Linked DNA regions of Homo sapiens: regions 1, 2, 4, 5, 6 and 7 are each linked to region 3. The links are contacts of gene promoters, found by promoter capture Hi-C in blood cells and fetal thymus (Javierre and others, 2016). All regions are on one chromosome and are shown on one strand. Each heading gives the region's core, a stretch centred on a gene start or on the middle of the fragment in contact. The rest is flanking DNA. Distances are from core to core; before and after follow the strand shown. Region 1 overlaps AGO1 (argonaute RISC component 1). Region 2 has its middle 2.9 kb from the start of THRAP3. Region 3 holds the start of CDCA8 (cell division cycle associated 8). Region 4 holds the start of PABPC4 (poly(A) binding protein cytoplasmic 4). Region 5 overlaps ADPRS (ADP-ribosylserine hydrolase). Region 6 overlaps NDUFS5 (NADH:ubiquinone oxidoreductase subunit S5). Region 7 overlaps TRAPPC3 (trafficking protein particle complex subunit 3).

The links. Contacts are between HindIII fragments. The CHiCAGO score rates a contact against its expected background, and 5 or more counts as called.
Region 1: a fragment that was not itself captured here is called in contact with the fragment with the promoter of CDCA8 in region 3 in 1 of 17 cell types (fetal thymus); the score reaches 5.7 in fetal thymus.
Region 2: a fragment that was not itself captured here is called in contact with the fragment with the promoter of CDCA8 in region 3 in 1 of 17 cell types (fetal thymus); the score reaches 12.1 in fetal thymus.
Region 4: a fragment that was not itself captured here is called in contact with the fragment with the promoter of CDCA8 in region 3 in 3 of 17 cell types (total CD8 T cells, fetal thymus and naive CD8 T cells); the score reaches 7.4 in total CD8 T cells.
Region 5: a fragment that was not itself captured here is called in contact with the fragment with the promoter of CDCA8 in region 3 in 2 of 17 cell types (fetal thymus and non-activated CD4 T cells); the score reaches 6.8 in fetal thymus.
Region 6: a contact is called between a fragment that was not itself captured here and the fragment with the promoter of CDCA8 in region 3, in 2 of 17 cell types (fetal thymus and naive CD4 T cells). The highest score is 5.9, in fetal thymus.
Region 7: a contact is called between a fragment that was not itself captured here and the fragment with the promoter of CDCA8 in region 3, in 4 of 17 cell types (total CD4 T cells, fetal thymus, neutrophils and 1 more). The highest score is 5.6, in total CD4 T cells.

What each region holds. Positions count from the first base shown.
Region 1 is chr1:35,884,454-35,888,449 of GRCh38, reverse strand. It overlaps AGO1 (argonaute RISC component 1), which reads right to left. Exons shown (of 19, transcript NM_012199.5): 2 at 1-23. Among named protein-coding and RNA genes, the nearest start is that of AGO1, 3.2 kb to the right of the region's middle. RefSeq lists enhancers at 1,332-1,391, 2,029-2,668. The HindIII fragment of the contact is 1,464 bases long and covers 793-2,256 here.
Region 2 is chr1:36,219,599-36,223,541 of GRCh38, reverse strand. It overlaps a transcript of THRAP3 not described here. Among named protein-coding and RNA genes, the nearest start is that of THRAP3, 2.9 kb to the left of the region's middle. RefSeq lists an enhancer at 133-302. The HindIII fragment of the contact is 6,098 bases long and covers 1-3,943 here.
Region 3 is chr1:37,690,753-37,694,710 of GRCh38, reverse strand. CDCA8 (cell division cycle associated 8) reads right to left here and starts at 2,195. Exons shown (of 10, transcript NM_001256875.2): 1 at 1,927-2,195; 2 at 1,678-1,806. The coding sequence starts at 2,020. It also overlaps a transcript of AIRIM not described here. RefSeq lists enhancers at 1,414-1,922, 1,923-2,433, 2,472-2,661, 2,434-2,943, 2,944-3,454 and silencers at 2,892-3,061, 3,082-3,141. The HindIII fragment of the contact is 4,527 bases long and covers 1-3,958 here.
Region 4 is chr1:39,576,001-39,579,567 of GRCh38, reverse strand. PABPC4 (poly(A) binding protein cytoplasmic 4) reads left to right here and starts at 2,778. Exons shown (of 16, transcript NM_001135653.2): 1 at 2,778-3,567. RefSeq lists a silencer at 2,524-2,833 and an enhancer at 3,334-3,403. The HindIII fragment of the contact is 1,332 bases long and covers 600-1,931 here.
Region 5 is chr1:36,092,547-36,096,256 of GRCh38, reverse strand. ADPRS (ADP-ribosylserine hydrolase) reads right to left here. Exons shown (of 6, transcript NM_017825.3): 6 at 2,325-3,160. The coding sequence ends at 2,871. It overlaps COL8A2 (collagen type VIII alpha 2 chain), which reads left to right. Exons shown (of 4, transcript NM_005202.4): 4 at 1-1,018. Among named protein-coding and RNA genes, the nearest start is that of ADPRS, 5.5 kb to the right of the region's middle. The HindIII fragment of the contact is 2,490 bases long and covers 866-3,355 here.
Region 6 is chr1:39,029,256-39,033,219 of GRCh38, reverse strand. The region is part of intron 2 of NDUFS5 (NADH:ubiquinone oxidoreductase subunit S5); the gene reads right to left. Among named protein-coding and RNA genes, the nearest start is that of NDUFS5, 4.9 kb to the right of the region's middle. The HindIII fragment of the contact is 4,854 bases long and covers 1-3,857 here.
Region 7 is chr1:36,143,861-36,147,802 of GRCh38, reverse strand. All of the region lies in intron 1 of TRAPPC3 (trafficking protein particle complex subunit 3), which reads left to right. Among named protein-coding and RNA genes, the nearest start is that of TRAPPC3, 3.7 kb to the left of the region's middle. The HindIII fragment of the contact is 3,569 bases long and covers 448-3,942 here.

The DNA of each region.
Region 1 (3,996 bases), core at 275-2,774, 1.8 Mb after region 3:
GGGGGGCAGGTAAGCGCCCGCAGCTACAAGACAAAGAGGCTGGTGAGGGTAAAGTCTGGCAATCTCCTAACTACTCTTATCAGAGGAGGAACAAGGCCTCCCAGAACAGGAACACGAGAGTATAGAGAATGCCTCTTTCCTGCTACCCAACCCAGCCAAGGGCTTCCAGGGGACATCTCAAGCTCATCTGTGTTTTTTCTCTTTTTTCTTTTTTAATCTCTCTCCAGTTAGGAAAATTATCCTTATTGTCTATTTTTAATTCATTAAGTTAATATATAATAAGTTCCTATTGCATGTTAAGCAGAGAGACTAAATCTGGCTCCTAGTAACAAAACCCTTTCTTTCTTCTAGTAGAGTAAGACACTTGCCTCCACCAGGTATCTAGCAGACCAAGAATTTCTATTCTCTGCCAGCCAGATGCTCACTCCATTCGCCACCATGCTGAATACAAAATGGCATAACCTTGATGTTCCTTTATAGGTGGGCAGGAATAAGATCCAGACAAGGCCAGGCTGGAGAGGGCAGGGTCAGTGTTTGAGGCAGAATTAAGGCAACTGAATGGCGAGAGTTGGAGACAGGGAAAAGGAGAAAAGGCTCAAAGGACAGAGTTTGGAGACTAAGGAAAAGAGAAAGGGGGTTGGAGAAGAGGACAGAGCTGGAGGTCACAAAAGAAAAAGGCCAGGAGAAAGAGAAGGCTGGAGTCAAGGGGTGGGGCAAAAGAGGTTAGGGTTGGAAGCTCAGGCAGGAAGAAACAAAGCAGCAACTGGGGAGACAATGATAAAAAAAAAAGCTTGAATAAAGAAAGAACTAACGGGTTTGGGAAGAAGAGGTGGCAATTAGAATGCTGGAGAAGAGACACTGGCTCTGGGAAGAACACAAGATTCTCTCCATGCCCCACAGATCCTTCCACACAGAAGGTCCAGACAGCAGCAGAAGAGATCAATTTCAAGACAGAGGAGGCCCTTGGGAAAGGGATAGGGTAAGGCCAGATCCAGCTACTTTACCCTCTTTTGCCAGTCTGGCTGCTGTCTCCAGTCTTATTTTCTAGCTTGGGGGGAAGAGAGAAAAAAAGGGAATAATATGCTGCTATTGTTCTTGGCAGTAGAGAACTAGCCCAGGTGGGAGAAGAGAGGGATAAACCAGCCCAGAACCTCCCATTATCAGACTTCTGCTTTCACAGTCAGACAAGCTGGGGGGATGGGGCATACCCTCAGCTGGGGGTCAGGAAGAGGTCAGAACCATTCATGGGAGGGGCAGCTTCCCAGAGCTAAGCTGCTCTGTTTCCCTCTAACCACCTGTCCAAGCCCAGTCCCACTCTGCAGACAGGGAAATGAAGGCCCAGCCTGGATGGAAAAGGTCTTCAGAACTCAGCTACATGGGGAAGGGAAAACCTATCTACTAGCACCTGGCTGCCTACCTCAGAAAGTGCTGGACAGAAATTGCACACAAGCTCACGGACAGACAGACACACATCCCCATCACACACATCCAAACACACACTTAGACCTTGGCAATTTACACTTACACACATATCCTTCACTGCCCTAGACTGAGTTCTTCAAAGGCAGGGACTATATCTGCCTTGGTCACTGTTTAATTTCCAGTGTCTGACACACACACAGGAAGTATTCAACATACTGATATGAAATGAATGAACAAACATATCCATAGACACACCACAAAAACACACAAGCACACACAGCACACAGACACACGAACACCTGCAATTGCCCAGAAACAATTATAAACACTACACAAGACAAATATGCACGTTTGTGGGTGTAGCCAGTAAGAGACATCCTTTCCCTCCCCAAGTTCTTATATTTCATTCACCTTCTTCCCCTCCCAGACTGAATAATCATTTGGGGCCTTCGGAGAAAGATAACTCCTAGAGCTGGGGGGCTAGTTAGAAATGATGGGGGATGGGACAGACACTCTAGCCTCAAAGCCTTCTCTTCCCCAGAAACCCGACTACATACCACACATAGCCTTAGAGCACCTTCCTCTCCAAAGAGGCTTTGGGAAAACAGGGGAGCCCACACCCCCACTTCATCTCCAAACTAGGAAAGACAGCAGGAAGCAGGAACCTCTCTCCCATTACATCCCCCTGAAAGCCTAACAACAGCACTGTCTCCTCCCCGCCCCCCTTACCCCAGCTTTTAGTCTGAGAAAGGGAGACACTTCCCTACAGACCCAGACAGGGACAGACGGCCACTTTGTGATGCAGATGAGGGCCCCAGCACAGAGGACAAAGCTTGGGCCTAGGGGGAAAGGGGCGGGACCCTTCTCTTCAGACAAAAGCAAGGAGGGAGGGGCCCTGAAAAGGACACTCCCCCTCCCCCATCCCCAAGGAGCCCAGAGAAGGAAAAGTAACAGAGCTGAAAACCCTGGCTCAGGATTCCTTTCTTGCAGTTCTGAGGCCCACACACCTCCCAAGGAGCCAGACTGCCTATTCAAAAGACACAAATTCAAGGTTAGGTTAGGTTAGGTTAGCTGGTGGGCAAGCAAAGACTAACAAGCCAATCTCTCCAAAAAGGATCTGTTCCATGTGAGTATACACTTTATTAAATATCCACATACGTGCTTAACCATTTATGTTCACACTTGAATGTGATTTGATTTAATTAATAAACATGTATTCTGTGCCAGGGCCTATACACTAGGCACTTGCTAGTTCTACAAATAAACCAGACACTGCTTCTACCCTCAGGGAGCACCCAGTCCACTGTATGTGCTTGGAACACACCTGAGCACAGAAGGCAGACCTGGGCATAAGCCCAGTGAGGCTAGCAACAATGCTTTAGTTTTTGGGGGGTTTTTTGTTGTTGTTTTTTACACAACGCTTTAGTTTTGTGTATTATGTCCTCAGGCCACCTTGGGACACCACTCTAACTTCTTATAAGAGAACAGTCCGGGCCTAGGAAGGAGGCAGTTATGGGGTCCCTCAATTTGCAGCTTCCAGACTGAATCTCAATTATACCCTTTACTGAGGCAAAGCCTGTCCTATTCGGCTTTTCCCAAGGCTTTGGCTGACTCCAAACAGCAGGTTCTAGCTCCTTTCCTATAAGCTTATTTTTTGTAACAAATTTTTAAAAAGTCAATTTTTCATCACTCCAGAGCCTATTAGGAATTCATCAGGATAAAAATCATTAGTCTAGAATGGGTACCAGCAACCAGCAATCCATGTGGACCTCAATGACCTACCCCACTACTCTAGTTCATGGGTTGTTGGAAATAGTCCCCAGCCTTGAAAAACAGAAGTTCCTGGGATGGAGAGAGGGTCCTGACAGAGAGGAAGTACTCAAGTCAGTTGCTCCCTGTGCTTATCCTTACGACTACACAGTCTATACAAGGCTGGTTGTTAAGAGGGAAAACAGTCACTAAGTACTTAGAGATCACTAAATGGATAACTTGAGTGAGGTCGTAGGAGCTATTTCCTTGGGAGGGTGGGAGGGAGTTAGGTCTGCTACAAAAAAAACAAAATAATTCCACTAGGAAAGTAATGAAGTTCATGGCCTAAATGGAAATTTGATTCCCATCCCCAGACCAAATGTAAGGAAGTGGTGAGAGATGACCTGAAGGATTCCCAGGTCCAGGCTCCTCGTCCCATCACAGGGTAAGACACTTAAGACACAAGAGGTATCACCACCCCACAGCCCATCCTAAGGACTCCAGTTTTCTTGAGGCAATCCTGCCTCAGTTTATCCTCTGTTCCTATGTCTTTTCCTCCTCATTGCCTGCAAATAAGAAGTTAAGGCTATCACCTAGGCCTCACCAGGATGAAGGCTATAAACTCCCCCATCCTCCAACGTGTTTGTAGGGTTTAGATCTTGGCTCTAAAGACAGCCCTGACAGTTTCTGGGGAGTGGGGAGAGGAAAACGGAAAGATATCCAGTGGAAGATAGGAGCCATGAAAATATTAAGAAATATTAGAATAAATGTTATAAATGTAGAGTGTAACCTTAACAGACAATTCAATGGAAAATCTTTGGATTA
Region 2 (3,943 bases), core at 1,268-3,767, 1.5 Mb after region 3:
ATAGGTCATCTGTGATGCTTTCAAAGTTGACTAGCTCCTCCCTATGCCTGTGTTCCCACAGTAAGTTTGCATCTTACTCTGTAAGTATCGGGGCCTTCCCCGACAAGACTGTGAGCTCTTTGAGAGCCGAGATCAGTTTTGATGGATTTCTGCACCTCCAGAGAAAAGTAGACACAGTACACATCAATTAATAAAGAAATCTAATGCTCTTCCTAAGAGAAAAGCTGCAAGGCTCAACTCAAGTAGCAGACCACGCCACATCAGCCCTTGCCCTTAGTGGCTTCGGCAGCATTCCTTGCACACGGCTTACTCTTTCTTCCTTCTTTGAGCACTTCTTGTGGTCGACGTACTGCGCAGTGCTTCTTAAAACGTTCTAATTTAATTGATTTTATTTTTATTTATTTATTTATTTATTTATTGAGATTCTCCCTATGTCGCCCAGGCTGGAGGGCAGTGGTGCGATTTTGGGTCACTGCAACATCTGCCTCCCAGGTTCAAGCGATTCTCCTGCCTAAGCCTCCTGAGTAGCTGATTTTACGGGCATATGCCACCACCCGGCTAATTTTTCTACTTTTTGTGGAGACGGGGTTTCGCCACGTTGGCCAAGCTGGTATCAGACTCCTGACCTCAAGTGATCCACCTGCCTCGGCCTTCCAAAGTGCTGGGATTACAGGCGTGAGCCACGGGGCTGAACCAATGTAATTTTAAATTCAAAGATTTTCTGGGTGTCTACTGTATACAATGCCCAGTGTAAAATACTGGGAACACGGTAGTAAACTAGATGGATACCAAAATACATAATTTTGGCTCCCCTTTTAAGAAATACAGGCATAGGCCGGGCGCGGTGGCTCACGCCGGTAATCCCAACGCTTTGGGAGAACCGAGGCGGGCAGCTCACCTGAGGTCAGGAGTTCGTGATCAGCCCAGCCAACATGGCGAAACCCGTTCTCTACTAAAAATACTACAGATTAGCCGGGCGTGGTGGTGGGCACCTGTAATCCCAGCTACTCAGGAGGCTGAGACAGGAGAATCGCTTGAACCCAGGAGGTGGAGGTTGCAGTGAGCCGAGATCATGCCACTGCACTCCAGCCTGGGCGACAGAGCAAGACTCCGTCTCAAAAAAAAAGAAAAGAAAAAAAGAAATACAGGCATATCTCAAATATTGCAGGTTCAGTTCCAGAACACCACAATAAAGCAAAGATTGCAGTAAGGTTAGTCCAAGTTTCCCAGTGCATATTAAAGTTATATAGTATGTTTACATCATACTGTAGTCTATTGTGTGCACTAGTGTTATGACCTAAAATATATATACTTTAATAAAGAATATTACTTAAAAATGCTGTCAGCCTGGCGTGGTGGCTCACACCTGTAATCCCAACACTGGGAGGCCAAGGCGGGTGGATAACCTGAGGTCAGAAGTTTGAGACCAAGGCCAGGCGCAGTGGCTCACGCCTGTAATCCCTGCACTTGGGGAGGGCGAGGCTGGTGAATCACCTGAGGTCAGGAGTTCAAGACCAGCCTGGCCAACATGATGAAACCCTGGTCTCTACTAAAAATACAAAAAATTAGCTGGGCATGCTGGCGGGCACCTGTAATCCCAGCTATTCAGAAAGCTGAGGCAGGAGAATCGCTTGAACCCAGAAGGCAGAGGTTGCGGTGAGCCGAGATCGTGCCACTGCACTCCAGCCTGAGTAACAAGAGCAAAACTCCGTCTCAAAAAAAAAAAAAAAAAGTTCAAGACCAGCCTGACCAACACGGTGAAACTCCGTCGCTACTAAAAATACAAAAGAATTAGCTGGGCGTGGTGGCACATGCCTGTAATCCCAGCTACTCGGGATGTTGAGGCACGAGAATCGCTTGAACCCAAGAGGCGGAGGTTGCAGTGAGCTTAGATCGCGCCATTGCACTCCAGCCTGGGCAACAAGAGCAAAACTGTCTCAATAAAAATGCTGTCATCTGAGCCTTCAGCAAGTGGTCACTTTTTGCTGGTGGAGGGTCTTGCTTTTATGCTGATGGCTGTTGACTGACTAGGGTGATAGCTGCTGAAGGTTGGGGTGGATGTGGCAGTTTCTGATAATAAGAGAGCAATGAAGTTTGCCCCATCCATTTACTCTTCCTTTCTTTTTTTTTTCCCTTTTCATCCACTGAGAAAATGAAAAGTTGACTATTTCTTTCATGAAAGATTTCTCTGTAGCGTGCAGTGCTCTGATAGCATTTTAACAGCAGAACTTCTTTCAAAATTGGACTCACTCATCTCACATACTGCTGGTGTCTTATCAACCAACTTTACATAATATTCTAAATCCTGTGTTGTCACTTCAACAATGTTCGCAGCTTTTTTTTTTTTTTTTTTTTGAGATAGGGTCTCACTCTGTCACCCAGATTGCAGTGCAGTGGCCCACAATATGTGCACACTGCAACCGCCATCTCCCAGGCTCAAAGGATCCTCTCGCCTCAGCCTCCCAAGTAGCTGGGACTACAAGTGCATACCACCATGCTGAGCTAAAATTGTAAAAATTATTTTGTAGAGATGAGGTCTCACTATATATATATATATATATATATATATTTTTTTTTTTTTTTTTTTTGAGACAGTCTCACTCTGTTGCCTGGGCTGGAGTGCAGTAGTGCGATCTCTGCTCACTGCAGTCTCTGCGCCCCCGGGTTCAAGCGATCCTCCTGTCTCAGTCTCCCGAGTAGCTGAGATTACAGGTACCCGCCACCTCACCCAGATAATTTTTTGTGTTTTTAGTAGAGACAGGTTTTCGCCATGTTAGTCAGGCTGGTTCCGAACTCCTCACCTCAGGTGATCCACCCGCCTCAGCCTCCCAAAGTGCTGGGATTACAGGCGTGAGCCACTGTGCCCAGCCGAGGTCTCAGTATATTGCCCATTCTGGTCTCAAACTCCTGGGCTCAAGTGATTTTCCTGCACTGGGTTTCTAAAGTGCTGGGTTCATTTATTCATTCTTGTCATTCATTTACAGATATGAGCCACTGCACCCAGCCTTCACAACATTTACAACAAGAGTTGATTGTATCGTAAACCATTTTTTGACCAGGCTGGTCTCGAACTCCTGACCTCAAGTAATCAGTCCACCTCAGCCTCCCAAAGTGCTGGGATTATGGGTATGAGCCACCACACCTGGCCACAAAATGTATTTCTTAAATAAGACTTGAAAGTCAAAATTACTCTTTTATCCATGGGCTATAGAACGGACATCATGTTAGCAGGCATAAAAACAACATTAGGGCTGGGCACAGTGGCTCACACCTGTAATCCCAACATTTTGGCAGGCCGAGATGGGTAGATCACTTGAGGTCAGGACTTTGACACCAGCCTGGCCAACACAGTGAAACCCCATCTGTACAAAAATACAAAAAATAGCTGGGCGTGGTGGTGTGCATCTGTAATCCCAGCTGCTCAGGAGGCTGAGGCAGGAGAATCACTTAAACCCAGAGGTGAAGGTTGCAGTGAGCCAAGGTCACGCCATTGCACTCCAGCCTGGGTGACAGAGTGGGACTCCATCCCAAAAAAGAAAAAAGTTCTGTCATCCAGGCTTTGTTGTTCCATTTGTAGAGCATAGGCAGATTAGATTTAGCGTAATTCTTAAGGGCCTTAGGATTTTCAGAATGGTAAATGAGCATCGCCTTCAACTTAAAATCACCAGCTGCATTAGCCTGAAAAAAGAGAATCAGTCTGTCTTTTGAAGCCTTGAAGCCAGGCATTGACTTCTGCTCTCTAGCTATGAAAGTCCTAGATGCCATCTGCTTCCAGTGGAAGGCTATTTCATCTACATTGACAATCTGTCAGGGGCCGGGCACGGAGGCTCACGCCTGTAATCCCAGCACTTTGGGAGGCCGAGGCAGGCAGATCACCAAAGGTCAGGAGTTCGAGACCAACCTCTCCAATGTGGTGAAACCCCGTCTCTACTTTAAAAAAAAA
Region 3 (3,958 bases), core at 946-3,445:
AATTTCTCTGTGCCTTAATCTTGTCATTTTGAAAAATAGGGATATTATTAGTTATGAAGAAAAATTAGTTAATGTATGTAAAACACTTGGTACAATGCCCATCTGGCATAGAAAGCACAATATGCTCACTGACCACTACTCTATTCTATCTCCTTTGTAGTACCTATACTTTTAATTACATAATTGTATGTGGATTTTTCTAATAGCTCTTTTCTACTAATCTGTATGTTCCTGAAGGCAGAGACAATGTCTGTTTTATTCCCTAGTGCATCTTTAGCACCTAGCACTGTGACTGACACATGCTCAGTATTTGGAGAAATAAGCAAATGAATGGCTTAATAAATAAAAGGGCAAGTCAAAAGGATCATTCAATGTCTAATATGTGAGCAGACCATGCATTTCTATCCAGGAAGGAGACTACATGCTGGATAGTTAATAATAAGGAAAACAGAAAAGGGCAACCCAGCAGAAAAGTACAGCCTCCTGCATTTCTCCGGACATTTAATAAGGGAGTGCAGAAACAGGCTGGGATTTTTCTCTGGCCAGGAAAACTGATGTGTCTTTTTTTTTGAGACGGAGTTTCACTCTTGTTGCCCAGGCTGGAGTGCAATGGCGTGCTCTCAGCTCACCGCAACCTCTGCCTCCCAGGTTCAAGCGATTGTCCTGCCTCAGCCTCCAGAGTAGCTGGGATTAGAGGTATGCGCCACCACGCCCGGCTAACTTTTTTGTATTTTTAGTAGAGACAGGGTTTCTCCATGTTGGTCAGGCTGGTCTCGAACTCCTGACCTCAGGTCATCTGCCCGCCTCAGCCTCCCAAAGTGCTGGGATTACAGGCGTGAGCCACCACGCCCAGCCTGATGCGCCCATTTTTAGGTTAGCAATTTCCATAAGCTGCAGAAGGAGCTGCTTCGGGTTATTCTTCTATCTGAGCTCTGGTTAACTAACCATGTCATTTATTCATTCATTTTTAAATGGGTAAAATATACATATATTTTTAAAAATACTATTTTCTGGCCGGGCGCAGTGGCTGACTCCTGTAATCCCAGCACTTTGGGAGGCCTATGTAGGTGGATCACTTGAGGTCAGGAGTTCGAGACCAGCCTGGCCAACATGGTGAAACCCCGTCTCTACTGAAAATACAAAAATCAGCGGGGCATGGTGGCAGGCGACCGTAATCCCAGCCACTCCAGAGGCTGAGGCAGGAGAATCACTTGAACCCAGAAGGTGGAGGTTGCAGTGAGCAGGGATCGCACCACTGCACTGCACTGCACTCCAGCCTGGGTGACAGAGTGAGACTCTGTTTAAAAAAAATTAAATAAATTTCCTGATGTGTGAAAATTATGTGAAATTCACATTTCAGTGTATCCATAACTAAAATTTTATTGGAATACAGCCCATCCATGCCCATTCACTACAGCTGTTTTGGACCTGTAAACAGCAGAGCTGAGTTGTCCGACAGAGACCGCCCCGCCCGCCGCCCCCCAACCACCCCCCCATTTTTCATAGAGAAAAATGAAGTAGGGAAGTGAGACAGAGAGTGAAAGGGTCTGCAATTTTCCATAAGTGGTCATGTCAGATCTCATTAAAAGGTGACATCTGAGCGAGCCCTTTCTGAAGGGTGTCACCTAACCCCAAGGGGCTCCTGGCCTCCGCCCAGGGAAGCTCTCCAGCTCTTACCGAAGTAGTCAAGCCAGTTCATCTCGCGCAGAGCCTTGGGGAGCCGCAGGATCTCGATGTTGTAGAGGTTATCCACCTCCTTGAGGAGGTTCTGCCTGTCTGACTCAATTTGCTTGATTCGTATTTCCACTGCGGGAGGGCAGAGCCGACAGGACACGGGTCACGGGCGGGCGAATCTGTGCAGCTCGTGTCCCCACCCGCCAGCATCCCGCGACCGCCCCAGGAGGCCGCGACGGCCTGGCCCCTTACCTTCACGGTCGAAGTCTTTCAGAAAGGAGGCGAGCTTCCGCCTCCGTAAGGAGTTGGTCTTGGCCACCCGACTACTGCCCTTCCTAGGAGCCATGGCGCTCGGCGGAGGCTGCGGGGAGCGGCGGAGATGGGGCAGGGAAGCAAGAAACTGGGTAGGGACGAGGAGGGCGGACGGGGACCACCCGAAGAAGTCGCCAGGCACGTACCTGCGGTCCCGAGACAAGGGCTGAGCAAAACCTCGCTGTGCCAGTGAGAGAGAGCGGCTCTACAGTCAACCGCCACCCAATTCAAACTCCACAGTCACAGGCTGACGAATGAGAAGCCGCCGTCCCACAACATCCAATCACAAGCAAGTTCCTGCCGGCCCAGGGTCTTCCGCCCAATGCGCCCCCTATAGCCTGAGTGCGACAGCGAGGCCGCCGCCGTCGCGGGTACTCCTGGGAGTTGTGGTCCAGGCTTGTTTCCCCGCCCTCCCCACCAACCCACCCGGCTCCGCCCTGGCCGGCTGCGAACTATACAAACTACTACTCCCGGCAGGCCTTGTGGCGGCTCTGCAATACCCCAAGCTCTGGAGGGCTGGGGGCCTACTAGGTCAGGTCGGCTGTAGGATTCTGCTCCAGGGTTGGCGGCTGCTTCTTTCTGGCCTGGCTGCCACTGAGTAGCCGAGGGGCCGCCGTGACCCTCTGACTGATTGACTGGCTGGCTGCCTACGTCGGCGCTCCTCAGGGCCCCAAGCTCCTCAGGCCGAACTTCGGGCAAGTGGCGGGTCGGCAGAGACAGAGCAGCCCCGGCAGGGTTTGACAGAGCAAGGGGGACGGAATGATAGAGGAGCAGGGCAGGGGTGCAGGCTTTGGGGGGGGCGCGCTATCCCGCGGCCAGTCTGGGCAGCGAGTGGGGGGAACCCTGTCGTTCCTCGCTCCCCCGCGGGCCGGCCACTCCCGCCCAGTTCGCGTGTTGGCGCCTCGACTGGGTGCGCAGCGCGGGGCTGCGACTTCAGGTGCAAGTAGTGGCGCTTGGCAGCTGGCCACACGGTGACTGCAGCATGAGCCGCGGCCACCAGGCTCCAGGGAGCCCAGGGCAGGAGGCAGCTCTGGGTGTCGTGGCCGTGGGCCTGGGAATGGGCGTGTAGACGGCGAGCCCCGCCGAGCCGCGGTCCTGTCGGAGGTGCTAACTGTGCATCTTGGTATCTGCCCACGGCCACAGGGTTGGATTGCTCAAGAGTTGTGCTGAGACCCAGAAGGCTAGAGGCTAGTTTCGAAGCTGTAGCTCAGGCTGAGTCTCAAGGCGGGCGGCGACTGGACGGCCAGACCGGCGAGCTCTTGACGGGTTTGTGGCCTGATTGTTTGGATTTGGTGCTTTTCACCTGTGGATGCGGTCTGAAGCCATGTCAGAGGGGTTGTGTTTAAGCGTGCATGTTATAGGCTATGGGAGTGATAATCTTGCCTCTCCCCCTCTGAGTTGAGGAACAATCGAAGAAATAAGCAAAGGTGCCAAGCAGGCTCCTGATGGGCACCAGCGAGCTTGGGGACAGAGCAGTCCAAGCATAGAAGTCCTGGCAAGCCTGGACCTTCCTGGAAAGTCCTTTCTCTCTCTTCCACCCTGGTCTGTTGCTCCATATGCAACAAATATTTGAATGTCGCTCTTCCGCCCGAGGTCAGCCCTGGGCAGTGGGTAGTGGGGGTGACACCCCAGTCTGCTGGGTGCCTGAGGATCTCCATCAGTCAGATGGCCAAGATGAGACGGGATGACAACCCGTACCTCATGTAGGCTTTCCCCCTGCAGGTGTTTTTATGCTGCGCAAGTCGGGCTTCCAGCCTCTCGGTTTCAGGGTTTCCTTCACCCTACTCCCCAGTGAGCCCGAACTCCCTGGGCACCTAGGACGTCCACCTGCATTTTAGCCAGAGCTGCCACGTCAGGAGCCCGTGATTTACTAGTTTTTGCCAGTTGGTTGTGATACACAATGTCAAAAGTGTCATTAAGGCACAACCGGAGGCGCAAGATAAGAGGAAAAGACTCCACAGCTAACAGGACA
Region 4 (3,567 bases), core at 16-2,515, 1.9 Mb before region 3:
TAGCCAGGTGTGGTGGCGCATGCCTGCAATCCCAGCTACTTGGGAGGCTGAGGCATGAGAATTGCTTGAACCTGGGAGGCAGAGGTTGCAGTGAGCCGAGACTGCACCACTGCACTCCAGCCTCGGTGACAGAGGAAGATTTCATACCCCCCCCACAAAAAAAACAAGAAAACACACACACACACACACACACACACACACACACACACAAACATATATTGAATATTTATTTATCTATTTATTTTTTAGTAACAGAGTCTCACTCTGTTGCTCAGCCTGGAGTGCAGCGACATGATCATAGCTCACTACAGCCTTCAACTCCTGGCCTCAAGCGATCCTCCTACCTCAGACTCCCAAGTAGCTGAGACCACAGGCATGTGTCCCCACACCCAGCCAATTAAAAGAAAATTTTTTTTTGTAGAGATAGGGTCTCACTCTGTTGCCCAGGCTGGTTTCAAATGTCTGGGCTCAAGCGATCCTCCTGCCTCAGCCTCCCAAAGCACTGAGAGTATAGGTGTGAGCCACCTGCCTGGCCAGTTACTGAACATTTAGTACGTGCTATGTTAAGCACTATTCTAGATTCCTGTTCTCATGAAGCTTATATACCAATGTGGAAAAGATAGATACTAAACAGGTAAACAGATATAGAACAACATAATTTTGGGTAGGAATAACAGGCTTGAAGACAAGAAGACAAGTTGGTGTGATAGTGATTAACAATGTTGACGGCTACTTTAGACCACAGGAGGTCTAGGAAGACTTTCCTGAGGAGGGAATCTATAGAAGGAGCACTCCCATAAATGTTCCTTTTTTTTTGAGACGGAGTCTCGCTCTGTCACCCAGGCTGGAGTGCAGTAGCATGATCTCAGCTTACTGCAACCGCTGCCTCCTGGGTTCCAGCGATTCTCCTGCCTCAGCCTTCCAAGTAGCTGGGACTATAGGCACGTGCCATCATGCCCGGCTAATTTTGTATTTTTAGTAGAGATGGGGTTTCACCATGTTGGCCAGGCTGGTCTCGAACTCCTGACCTCAGGTGATCCGCTCACCTCAGCCTGCCAAAGTGCTGGGATTACAGGTGTGAGCCATCGTGCCCAGCCAATGTTTCTTGATTTAATATAGTTATTAGAATATAAACTCCATGAGAGAGGGAGTGACTTCTGGTCCACCATGGTATCTCCAGCCCCTGTATTGACATTGGCATAGAGTAGGCTCAGATTAACCATTTATTTGAATTAATTAATATATAAATACACATATTTCTTTAGTCATTTACTTAAATCAGTGCTTTTGAAGGGGGATGTCTGTGTCTTTTGGCAATTTCTGTTTTTGGTTTTCACAGTGATGGCAAAGGTGGTTCCTGGCACTTATGGAAGAAGGGATGCTATATATCTTGTAATGCGTGTGGACAGTCCCATATAACATAGTCCTATAAAGTGATATGACTTTTTTTTTTTTGAGACGGAGTTTCGCTCTTGTTGCCCAGGCTAGAGTGCAATGGCATGATCTCAGCTCACCACAACCTCTGCCTGCCGGGTTCAAGCGATTCTTCTGCTTTAGCCGCCTGAGTAGCTGGGATTACAGGCATGCACCCCCATGTCTGGCTACTTTTTGTATTTTTAGGAGAGACGGGGGTTTCTTCATGTTGGTCATGCTGGTCTCGAACTCTCGACCTCAGTGATCCGCCCGCCTCGGCCTCCCAAAGTGCTGGGATTACAGGCGTGAGCCACCACGCCTGGCCTGTGATACGACTTTCAAATGACCTGCCAGACTCTCATGCAGATGAAAAGTCTTTTTATAATTATCCAAGCCTAGAAGAAACTTTAAACATAGGAACAGAAAGTATTTCTGTGCCCTTAAACACAAACTAAATGTCCGGGAATGCCACCAGCATGTCAATAGAGGGGATGCTTGTGTTTGGTTTCATTGAAGCTTTACCAAAATGTGCTCATCTTTTCAGAAAATCCCATCACCCATGGATACTGCTTGCATTTCTAGTTCCTGACGATTCTACCTCTAGGTCAACGGTATCCTGAAAACTTCTCAAATCTTTATTGTATTTGGACCCAGACATTTACCTATTGGACCACCTATTATTTTATTTTAACTTATTTTATGTCACCTTCATTTCACAATTTGGCATACCATTTAATTTTTTTTTTTTTGAGAGGGAGTCTCACTCTGTTGCCCAGGCTGGATGGAGTGCAGTGGCACGATCTTGGCTCACCGCGACCTCCGCCTCCCGGGTTCAAGCTATTCTCCTGCTCAGCCTCCCGAGTAGCTAGGACTACAGGCGCATGCCACCACGCCCGGCTAATGTTTTGTATTTTTAGTAGAGACGGGGTTTCACCGCGTTAGCCAGGATGGTCTCGATCTCCTGACCTCCATGATCCATCCGCCTCGGCCTCCCAAAGTGCTGGGATTACAGGCGTGAGCCACTGCACCCAGCCCCATACCATTTAATTTTAAACCTCATGCGTGTGTGCAGGTTAAATGGCTCCTAGGTTCCATTCCCGGGTGATGGGTGGGAGGGTGTTAAGATTTATTTGTTATAGAAAGGGGCCCTGGGGTCTCCCGCAGCCGCGAGCTGGGCGGTCCTCCCGGCGCCAGGGGTCGCTGTAGCGCCGCGCGGCCGCGCCGGGTCGCTCTCGCGTGGCCGCCCCGCCTCGGGCCCCCGGGCCGAGTGGGCGGGCACGACTGCGCCCAGGTCGCGAGGCGCCCTTCGACCAGCAGCGCCCGGGGCGGGCGGGTATAAATGGAGCGGTGGCTCCCTCGGCCGCCTCTCTCCGCCCCGGGTCGCTGCCGCCTCCGCCGCTTTCGGGCTTCGCAGCCTGAGGAAAAAAAGAGAAAAAGATAAAAAAAATCTGAAAACGCTTCAAAATCCTGAAAAAAAAAAAGGAAAAGAAAAAACGAATCCTCGGAGAACCCGCGGGGAAGTCACTTTCGTACGCTTCCGGCCTGCCCCGCGCCCGCCGCCGCAGCGCTTGGCGTCCGTCGGTCTCCGTCCGTCGGTCCGGGGGTGAGCCGCCCGCCCGGCCCGCCGTGCCCTCCCCCCGCTCGGGCCCCGAGCCCCGCGCCCCGCGCCTGCCCCGGCGCACCACGTGTCCGTGCTGCCCTTCGCCGCCCGCCCGGGGCTCGCCGAGTCGGCGCCCACAAAGATTTGGTTTCCCTCTGCCCCGGCGGTTGTAATCTTAAACCGCCGGAGCCCGAGGCCTATATTTATAGAGAAACGCGTGTCCCCGAGGCCGCCGTGGGCAGCGTCCGGTCGCCTCTTAAAGGATTTTTACCCTTCGGAAGGGGATTCCCCGTTTAATTTTTTTCCTACTTTGATTTTTTGAAATTTGGAGCTTCGCACCAGGACCGCGGAGAAGTGCAAAGTCGCGGGGAGGGCCGTATTGTGCGGAGAGCCTTTTGTCTGCGGTGCTGCGGCCGTGGGAGCCGGCCCCCGCCTCCCGTTTCCGTCCCGTCTCCAAGCCCGCCGACTCCAGCTCGTCCTCGCCGCGCCGGTGCCACCTGTGAGCCGCGGCGCGGGCCCGGGCTCCGAAGGCGCCCCTTTGTCCTGCGGCGGGC
Region 5 (3,710 bases), core at 861-3,360, 1.6 Mb after region 3:
TCAAGCGGAGTGGATAAGGCTGAGATGAGTGCTGGGAGTGGTGGACATTCCTGCTCGTGCAAAGATGGCCACTTTCCCCGCAGCTGCAGGGCCTCGCGCTCGGCCCTCGCCAGGCCAGCCCCACTCCTTGTACCAAGTGTGAACTGGGGTCATTCGGTCTGTGATCTCGTTGCACTGCTCCAAGTCTGGCTGTGTCCAGGCGGTCCATGTTGAAAATGGAGGATGGCTGCTGACTTCTGACTGGCTGAGCAGTGGGTTCCTTCAGGTTCCTTGCCAACCCTCCTCCCCTGCCCACAACTTCTCCAAACAAAGCAGGCTGTTTGCTCACTTCTTCAAAAGGAGGAATGATAACCCAAATCTGCCCAAGTGACACTTGAGAAGGTTTTGGCTGGGGTTCCTGGTGGATTTCTTACTACCTAACGCCCAAGAAAACCAACTAAGGACTCTCAAACCATACCTGGTGGGGGTTCTTCGCTCAACCTCTTCTTCCCTAGGTCAAAGCCACTATCATCTGATGTGTTAGGGATGGGTTCTGATTGGCAGAAATTAATCAGCTCCCAATGGGAGCCCACGGAACTAAGTAGGGTCCCAAGAAAAAAAACGGGAGCTATTTCACAGAGCTGAGCTTCTGCCAAATTTCATTCCTCAAACCTTTCAGGAGGGGTGGTTGGCGTTTCTAAAATGTTTATGGGATTTGAGTTGCAGGTGTCCACTTAACTGACTAGCTTTGATAAACAATGTCAGATTTTAACTATGAAAACGACATTACCTTGTGCATTTTTATATTGATTCCTATTTTTTTTTTAAGATTAAAGTTTAAATGTTTTCCACTAGTCATTTCACTTCTAACTTGGTATAGGAAGCTTAGCTCTCTACATACCTATCATGTGCCCTGTATCACAGAAGATTCAGGAAAAATGCACTTGGGAATCAAAGAAAATGGAACTTCTTTTTGAAAAGACAAGCAACCATGTTAACTGTATTGACACATCCTCAATAAAACCTGTTGTATAAAACAGCACTGTGCTGAAACTGATACTGACACAGAGGTATCTCAAGCCTCTGGGTTCTGTAAGGTGTCCAGGAAGCTCTCTGGGGCTTGTGTGCCTGCTCTTAAGGATCATGCACTCCTCACCAGCTCCCTAACCTGGATTTCTGTCACCACCACATCACAAATGCCTGATGCTCGTAAGCTGCTGAGGCCATGCGCCAGGCAAATGCCAGGAGGCATTTTAAGAAACCAAAGGCAGGTAGTGGCTGGAGCTGGGGGCGATGGCTCAATCTTTACTGGAATATTCCTGCAAGCTCTCAGGGCTAGTGGAGCATGACAGCTGGCTCAGTAGTCCGAGGGCCAAGTTTCAACATCTGATACAAATTATGAATGAAATCATGAATCTTTGCTCCTAAGGGCTGGGCTAGTGTCAGGCCCAGTGCTGAAGACAGGCTGGGGGAGCTGTCCTGGGCGGAAAGCACCTGCTCACAGCCTGCCATGCTCAGCCACGAAAGATCTGTCCCTGGCGCTGGGGGTCTGGGTGGCAGACCTGAAGCAATCTGTGTTTTGAAGAGTCCTCAGCCTAGCCAGAACCCTATCTTCACTAAAACAGATCTGCCCGAGAGTGCTGAAACCGCAGGGCAGCTGCAGACTGCACATGCTCGGCTAGCCACTGAGGCTGGATGCTCAGAGAATGTCCCTGGAGTTTGAGGGGAGGCATCTTCCCCCTTTCAATTTTCCCTTCTTCAGAATGGATGCTAGTCTCAGATACTTGGGAACCCATGTGGGAGGATCGCCTGTGCAATAGAGTGAGACCCCATCTCTAAAAACATGCTGTGTAAAACTTCCTTGCAGGGAAAGGCTTTTGATTGGTCCCAAGATACAGGAGGAGGCACACGGCACTCAGTCCACCCGGGGCCCCGTGATGGTGCCCTCCCCACCCAAAGGTTGGTAGTCTGATGATAGCAGGGCCCTCTGGATCCTTCTACAGGGTTCCTGTTCCTGGCCCAGCTGGGCCTAGCTCCTGTTTGGGGAAGTCAGGCTCTGAGAACAGAAAAATCTGGCTTGTTCCTACCCGCTGCCTCTGGCAAAGCACTCGGCCCAGCAGCCTGGGCCACTTTGAGTGATCTCTAACAGGAAAAGCCACCAGACCATGCCTGCTGTGCCCTTCCTGGCTGAACACGCAGCCAGCTGGAGTGCCTGGCAACACAGCAGCTCATGGCCTTGGGGCCCCAGCTTCTATGACAGTGCAGCACAGACAAAGGCACTAGTCTTCAGAGATCAGGCTGGCAGGGGAGAATCCATTCAGGGCAGGAGAAACAAGAAACAGTGGTGAGATTTACCAAAAACTGTTTATTGCGACTTCCACTGGAAGCTGTTAATAAGCCACATGGCAGCCAAGAGCCAGGTGTGACCTAGATCAGCTGGATGCAAGTGCCTGTCCCTTCATCCACACAACCTGCTGCTCGGGGACCCTGCTAGGATGCGCTTGCTGGCAAACTGGCTAAAACCCAACAGGGAGAAATGATGCTACTGCTCATCATTTCCACCTCCCCACATCCCATGTCCAAGACAATACAGGAAAATGCCACAAGTACCCCTCCAAAATAAACCCGCCTGCGTCTGTCTGTCCTACTGAGGAGCCAGGAGTGTCCTACGGCTCTGCAGCAAACCAGAGACCCAGCACCAGCGAGGCACCAGTCCCTTGCTCGCTGTTCCAGTGACCTCCCCTGCAGAGACCCCAGCCTCACCGGTGTACTCAGTCAGCTCCACAATGCAGGAAAAGTGGGAAGCCACACTCAAGGAAGCGCAGGGTTTCTGATTGGAGCTGTAGTTGGTCCCAGGGGACCTGGCAGAGCCCCAACAGCTGTAGCCCTCATCAACTCTTCTGGAAGACACGGTGCAGGCTTTGGGCCAGGATGTCTGTCTCCTCGTAGCCTTCACAGCTTTGCTGCCAGCTCTCTGGCACCTGATCCATCCCATAGTAGGCACCAGCAATGGCCCCAGCCATGGTGGCAATGGTGTCTGTGTCCCCACCAAGTGAGATGGAATAAATGAGAGTCCTTTGGAGGCTATTGAAGGCAGAAGGGATCTCAGGGTCTGGCTCCATGCAGCGTAGGAAGCAGTAGATGGCGGTGGGTACCGACTCAAAGGCAGCAATGCCATTCCCTGTGGGGAAGCCAGGTTAGAGGGGCTGCATGCTTCCCCAGGCCTCCTACCATTTGACACAAGTCAGCACTCTCGGCTTCAAGCAGGCTGTGACTAAGATCTCAGGCTCTACAGTTAGACCACCTGGGCTCAAATCCTGGCTCCACCACACACTGGCTGCGTGACTGGGAGAGTTACCTAGGGGACCGCTAAGCTTCCTGCTCCCAGATTCAACTCCTTAAGCAGACAGGGAGTAACGTTAGCAACTCTCTGACAGGGCTGTTGTGAGGATGAAGCGAGATCGTGTCTGTGAAGCATTCTGCACAACGCCCAGTATAGATGCTAGACAAATAAAATCCATTATCAACATTTTTACGACTAGTGGCCAGCTGCCATTTCTGGGGACACTGGTCCACAAGGCTGAGGGTGCTGTAGCTTCAGAGCAAGAAGCGCTGAGCTCAACCCTGCCATTGACTCCGTGTCACAGCAGCCCAGGGTACAATGCGACGGCAGGCATGACTCCATGCTCCCCTGAGCCCAAGACCGACCCTGAAGGACGACAGAGGGAGAG
Region 6 (3,964 bases), core at 181-2,680, 1.3 Mb before region 3:
TAGCCAATATGAGTTCTCTTTTCCCCATATGGAAGTAAAGGCCTGATTCTTACTCAGCCACTAGTCACCGCTGAGTCTTGAATTCTGTCTCTTCTACTCAGGGCATTGGTTGCTTCTCAACAAATCAAAACTATGTTACACAAGTGTGTCAAAGCCACAACAATGAACTGGTCCCTGGATTCTGTGACACAGAAAATTTACTAAATCTGATCACATTATTCCTCTGCTCAAAACCCTGCAATGGCTATCTTACTGAGACAAAAAGATGAATCCTTATCATGGTTTACAAGGCCTACTCCAGTGACTTCATCTCTTAATATTCCCCTAGCTCCCTCCAGTCAGCTCAGGGACCTTTGCACTTGCTGTTTCCTCTGCATGGAACATTCTTCCCTCATAACCACATAGCTCACTTTCTTTAAGTCTCTGGTCTGTCTTCTTTTGCTGAGATCTTCTCTGACTATTTAAAGTAGCATCCACCTAGCTCCTGCCCCTAGCACTTTCTATCCTTCTGTTTATTCTCCTCACAGCACTTATTATCACCTGTATTTTTACTTGTTATTTTTCTGCTCTTCCTCCCACTATAGCATAAGCTCACTGACTCTGAGATTTTTTTTTTTTGCTGTTTTGCTTACTGTATTCCTAGTGCCTAGACTAGTTTCTGACATAATTTTTTTAACCAATGACTAACTTTTCACAAAGATACGAAAAATTAGTATATTCAGTTAAACGTCTCATTAACCTTAAAGAAGTAGTGTTGATATAACTTCAGTAGAAAAAACCCTGAAATAAACATTAACCATTTTAAAAGACTACATTCTTACCATTTATCTTAGAGTCTCCCAACACAAGACTAGTCATGGTTTTGAACTATGACAATACCATATGTCAAATCTTTCTCTGAGCTAAAAGCAGTAACTCTGGATAAAAGCATAGGTATTGAAGCCAGCCTTGCCAGGATAAAATCCCAGCTCCACCATTTACTAGCTATGTAAGTTCAAGCAATGTCCTTAACTTTTCTTTGCCTTAAATTTTGTTTGTTCATTTGTTTGTTTTTTTGACACAGAGTTTCACTCTTGTTGCTCAGGCTGGATGGAGTGCAGTGGCGCAATCTCAACTCACTACAACCTCCGCCTCTCGGGTTCAAGCGATTCTCCTGCCTCAGCCTCCTGAGTAGCTGGGATTACAGGCACCCCCTTACCACACCCAGCTAATTTTTTGTATTTTTAGTAGAGAGGGGGTTTCACCATGTTGGTCAGGCTGGTCTTGAACTCCTCACCTCAGGTAATCCACCGCCTCAGCCTCCCAAAGTTAAATTTTTAACTGTGTAATGGGGAAACTAATAGTAACTCATCTCATAGGATTGTTGTGAGAAATACATGCATTATAATATGCTAAGAACTTACAATAGGACTTGATTCTAATTCTGACTCACTAGCTTCTTCACTTACAGGGAGGTATCTGTTCACTTAAGGTGACCCTGAAAATGGTAACTTATCTATTCATAAATTCACAGGATTAGGAAGTGACCTTAGAGCAATTCTTTAATTGTTTCAGATAAGGAAATGAAGACTAAGAGAAAGTGACTTGCTCAAAGTCACAAAACTAGTGGTGGTTTGCTGGACGTGGCGGCTCATTTCTGTAATCCCAGCAGTTTGGGGGGCCCAGGCAAGAGGATCGTTTGAGGCCAGGAGTTCAAGATCAGCAAAGGAAACATAGCAAAACCTTGTCTCTATAAACAATTTAAAAAGCCGCACATGGTGGCATGCACTTGTAGTCCTAGCTACTTGGGAGGCTGAGGCAGGAGGATGACTTGTGCCTAGGAGTTTGAGGGTGCAGTAAGCTATGATCACGCCACTGCACTCCAGCCCGGGTGACAGAACAAGACCCTGTCTCAAAAACACGACTAACAGGATGGGTGTGGTGGCTCACACCTGTAATTCCAGCACTTTGGGAGGCCAATGTGGGATCGCTTGAGCCCAGGAGTTTGAGACCAGCCTGGGCAACACAAGAAGACCCCATTTCTATTTTATATAAATAAAATCAAAATTAGGGCCAGGTGCAGTGTCTCACACCTGTAATCCCAGCATTTTGGGAGGCCAAGGCAGGCAGATCACCTGAGCTCAGGAGTTCGAGATCAGCCTGGGCAACATGGTGAAACCTTGTCTCTGCTAAAATACAAAAAATTAGCTGGGCGTGGTGGTGCACTCCTGTAGTCCCAGCTACTTGGGAGGCTGAAGTGGAAGAATCACCTGAACCCAAGTTGAATCTGCAGTGAGCTGTGAACACGCTACCGCACTCCAGCCTGGGCGACGGGAGTGAGACGCTGTCTCAAAACATAAATTAAAATTAATCAACCAACAACAAATGAGTGGTGGCAGAACCAGCATCAGAACCTGACTCTCCTAACTCCCAATCCAATGTTCTTTCCACCTTACTACAATGCCTCCTGTTGGTATCAATTTATCAAAATCTTTTTTTTATTTTCTTTTTTTTTTTTCTTGAGACAGAGTCTCGCTCTGTCGCCCAGGCTGGAGTGCAGTGGCACAATCTCGACTCACTGCAAGCTCTGCCTCCCGGGTTCATGCCATTCTCCTGCCTCAGCCTCCTGCCTCAGCCTCCCGAGTAGCTGGGACTATAGGCGCCAGCCACTACACCCAGCTAATTTTTTTGTATTTTTAGTACAGACGGGGTTTCACCATGTTGGTCAGGCTGGTCTCGAACTCCTGACCTTGTGATCCGCCTGCCTCGGCCTCCCAAAGTGCTGGGATTACAGGAGTGAGCTACTGTGCCGGGCCATCTTTTTTTTTTTTTTCTTGAGACGGAGTCTCGCTCTGTCGCCCAGGCTGGAGTGCAGTGGTGTGTTCTCAGCTCACTGGAACCTCTGCCTCTCAGTTTCAGGCGATTCTCTTGCCTCACCCTCCTGAGTAGCTGAGATTACATGCCCCTGTCACCATGCCTAGGTAATTTTTGTATTTTTAGTAGAGACGGGGTTTCACCATGTTGGCCAGGCTGGTCTTGAACTCCTGACCTCAGGTGATCCGCCCACCTTGGCCTCCCAAAGTGCTGGGATCACAGGCATGAGCCACTGCATGGGATTTTTTTAAATTTGTTTTTTTGGTTTTTTTTTTAGAGGCAGAGTCTCGCTCTGTCGCCCAGGCTGGAGTGCGGTGGCACGATCTCGGCTCCATGCAACCTCCGCCTCCCGGGTTCAAGCAATTCTTCTGCCTCAGCCTCCCGAGCAGCTGGGACTATAGGCACCCACCACCATGCCCTGCTAATTTTTGTATTTTTAGTAGAGACAGGGTTTCACCATCTTGGCCAGGCTGGTCTCAAACTCCTGACCTCGTGATACACCCGCCTCAGCCTCCCAAAGTCCTGGGATTACAGGCGTGAGCCACCGTGCCTGGCCAACTCATTCAACTTTTGAGGAGGTGAACACTAAGCTGTTAACATCCCTTTTCCACTGCATCGTTGTTCACGCTCATGTACAGCAATCTCATTAACACCTCCATCTTCTTCAGAGTGGAATGAATCCAAAGATGTTGAATGTAATGGATTTGCAAGGTTAAACCTCTTTTCCAATGAGGATTCAATGGATTTGAACATATTTTCACCCAAAGATTTTCAAGGGTCAACATCCAAAACTAGTTGATATTCTCTGCTTCACAGCCAACTGAAAAAATGGGTATACACACACATGCAATTTCTAACCTGGTGGCTAAAGCAGGGTAAAATACTAAGGAAAATTTGGGAGAAGAGAAAGAATGCTGAGGAACAATGGACCATCCTCATATCTGAAGGCATTTAATTTCCTCATCATGGTACCAAAGTAGGAAAGGTATTTCACCAGAAAAGCTTTGCCAATTCACATTTGGCAAGCCACTGCTCAATGACCCACTAAAAACACTTAAGAGTAATCCCAGAGGAGGCCAGGCACGGTGGCTCATGCCTGTGATCCCACTAC
Region 7 (3,942 bases), core at 983-3,482, 1.5 Mb after region 3:
TCAAGGCTCTTGGAACTCCCTTCTTCTAGATAGTCACTTAGCCCACTCCTGCCTTCATTCATAGTTACTCAAATGTCACCTCCTTTGAGAGGCCTTCCCTCCTGATTACCTGCCTAATTCTCTAACCTCTAACTCTATGCTGGTTGTCTTCATAGCACTGTCTATTTAATTTTAAATGATATACCCAGGCTGGAGTGTAGTGGCATGATTGAGGCTCATCCAGCCTGACCTCCCGAGTTCAAGCAGTCCTCCCGCCTCAGCCTCCCAAGTAGCTGGTACTATAGGTGTGCACCACCATGCCTGGCTAATTTTTTTTTTTTTTTGTAGAGCTAGGGGTCTCCCTGTGTTGCCCAGGTTGGTCTCGAGGTCTCGAACTCCTGGGCTCAAGCAGTCCCTCCAACTCTGCTTCACAAATTACTGGGATTGCATCTGTGTTCCATTTAAGCTTGCCAAGACCTAAATTGTTTTGTTTTGTGTTTTGAGACAGAGTCTCGCTCTGTCACCTAGGCTGGAGTGCAGTGGCCCGATCTCAGCTCACTGCAGCCTCCACCTCCCAGGTTCAAAAGATTCTCCTGCCTCAGCCTCCCGAGTAGCTAGGATTACAGGCACCCAACCACTACGGCTGGCTAATTTTTGTATTCCCAGGTTGGTCTCAAACTCCTGACCTCAAGTGATCTCCCCACCTCAGCCTCTCAAAGTGCTGGGATTACAGGTATGAGCCACTGCACCCAGCCTTCATTTTTTGTTTCTTGAAGCACCAAAAGCACAGATTTATTGAAATGAAAGTACACTCCACATAGCAGGAGCAGGCTCAAGCAAACGGCTCAAGAGCCATCTAAATTGTTAGTATGCCCAAGTAACTAGATTTTAGTCTGTGCAAACAGAAACAGCCCTTTTGTCCAATAAACTTTTCTTTAGCCCCAACTATATGCAGAGCTCTGTGCTAGATGCTGTGGGAGATGCAAGGATGAAGTCCTAGTCCCTAACTTTGAGAAGCACATACTCTGTGAGGGAGACAGAAATGTATACCATATATACTGTGTATCTTCTAGCAGTGGAAAAATAAAAAGAAATGTTTGCCATACAGAGGTGTAGTACCGCCTGCACCTGAGTTCTAGTTTCACCACTTACTTGCTGTGTTACCTTGGGCAAGTTTGTTCATTGTTCTAGCATCAGCTTAATCATCTTTTTTTTTTTTTTTTTTTTTTTTAATGAAGTAGGCTGGGTGCGGTGGCTCATGCCTGTAATCCCAGCACTTTGGGAGGCCAAGGCGGGCAGATCACGAGGTCAGGAGATGGAGACCAGGGTGAAACCCCGTCTCTACTAAAAATACAAAAAATTAGCCGGTCGCGGTGGCGGGCGTCTGTAGTCCCAGCTACTCAGGAGGCTGAGGCAGGAGAATGGCCTGAACCCGGGAGGCGGAGCTTGCAGTGAGCTGAGATTGCACCACTGCACTCCAGCCTGGGTGACAGAGTGAGACTCCATCTCAAAAAAAAAAAAAAGAGAGACCATCCTGGCCAACATGGTGAAACCCCATCTCTACTAAAAATACAAAAATTAGCTGGGTGTGGTGGTGCACACCTGTAGTCCCAGCTACTCAGGAGGCTGAGGCAGGAGAATCGCTTGAACCCGGGAGGTGGAGGTTGCAGTGAGCTGAAATGGCACCACGGCACTCCCGCCTGGCGATAGCAACACTCCATCTCAAAATAATAAATAAAATAAAAAGGCCGGGTGCTGTGGCTCACGCCTGTAATCCCAGCACTTTGGGAGGCCAGGGCGGGTGGATCACGAGGTCAGGAGATCGAGACCATCCTGGCTAACACGGTGAAACCCTGTCTCTACTAAAAATACAAAAAAAAAAGTTAGCCGGGCGTGGTGGCGGCCGCCTGTAGTCCCAGCTACTCGGGAGGCTGAGGCAGGAGAATAGCGTGAACCCGAGAGGCGGAGCTTGCAGTGAGCCGAGATCGCGCTACTGCACTCCAGCCTGGGCGACAGTGCGAGACTCTGTCTCAAAACAAAAATAAAAAAATGAAGTAATAATAGTACCTATATTATAGGGTTGTTCTGAGGATTAATTGAGAGAATGCATGTAAAGCTAGCAGTGTAACGGTGCACTTAGAACACAGTTGACACCCAGTAAGTGTCCTCTAGATGTGTTATTAGTAAAGCTAGTAGCCTTCATGTGCCTGTACGGGGGTTGGCTCTGGAATCCCATGGACAATGAGACCTGCCCTTCTCTTGCGTTGGCTTACTGTGACCCAACCCAGTGTCTATTCCCCTGAGCTCAGGTGAGCCATTACTTACGTAGTAGCACTTGGAGTCTCCATGACAAAAGGCTGGAGGGTAAGAGAGTTGGCTGGATTTAGTCTTGCTATTGATCCTCCTCCAGCTGCTAGAGGGGATTCACACTGGATTACCTATTTTGACAAAAATAGTATGAGTCTTGGAGCATTGGCTCTAAAGATCAGCCTCCTGGCCAGGCATGGTGGCTCACACCTGTAATCCCTGCACTTTGGGAGGTGGAGGCGGGTGGATCACAGGGTCGGGAGATGGAGACCATCCTGGCTAACACGGTGAAACCCCGTCTCTACTAAAAGAAAAAAAATACAAAAAATTAGCCGGGTGTGGTGGCGGGCGCCTGTAGTCCCAGCTACTCGGGAGGCCAAGGCAGGAGAATGGCAGGAACCCGGGAGGCAGAGCTTGCAGTGAGCCAAGATTGCGCTACTGCACTTCATCCTGGGCGACAGAGCGAGACTCCGTCTCAAAAAAAAAAGAAAAAAAAGATCAGCCTCCTTAAGGAGATTTGACATTTTGTTTGGGGCACTAACGGGAAGAAAGGCCTCCTGAAAACTGTCAAGTGGTGTCTCACCTGAGTGTAGAGCTGGTTTCATTTACTTTGTTCAGGTTGTGCCTGAAGTACTTGGAGATCATGTTAGCATAGCTGCTATAAATCCTGTGGTTTCTTGTCTGCAAAGCACATTCAAGTCCATTATCTTACTAGATCCTACCAACAACCCTGTGAATGGCATGACAGATTTTACTGTTTTACTGTTACTTTTTTTGAGTTAGAAGATTGAGGCTTAGCCCAGTGAATTGATTTACCTAAGTACTCACAGCTGTTAAGCAGCAAGTCCAGACTCAGAATCAGGCTTTCAGGATCTTGCTGTGTTGTCCAGGCTGGAATGCAGTGGTGTAATCACAATTCACTGCAGCCTTGACTTCTCAGGCTCGAGCCATCCTCTCACCTTAGCCTCCTGAGTAGCTGGGACTACAGGCATGTACCACCATGCCCAGCTAATTTGTTCTATTTTTTATAAAGATGGGGTCTCAATGTGTTTCCTAGGCTAGTCTCAAACTCCTGGGCTCAGGTGACCACTTCCGACCCCTGCCTCCGCCTCCCAAAGTGCTGGGATTATAGGCATGAGCCACCATGCCCAGCCAGAAAGTTGTTTATATTGATTCAAAATCTTCTTTCTTTATGACTTGCCCTCCCTTTTTTTTTTTTTTTTTTTTGGAGACAGGGTTTCGCTCTTGTCTCCCAGCCTGGAGTGCGGTGGCATGATCTTGGCTTACCGCAACCTCCGCCTCCTGGGTTCAAGCAATTCTCCTGCCACAGCCTCCCAAGTAGCTGGGATTACAGGCACCTAGTACCACGCCCAGCTAATTTTTGTATTTTTAGTAGAGACGGGGTTTCACCATGTTGGCCAGGCTCGTCTTGAACTCCTGACCTCAGGTGATCCGCCCGCCTCGGCCTCCCAAAGTGCTGTACTTGCCCTCCTTGAACCTAGTTCAGGGTGTGATCTAGCACCACACCACATGGAACCAGTTTAAGAATAAAAATAAGTATGTATTTCTTGAGTACCTGCTGTGCAGCAGGTGCTCCACAAACATTATCTGATTGGAATTTCATTGGAATTACACAGTAACTCTGAAAGGCAGGTA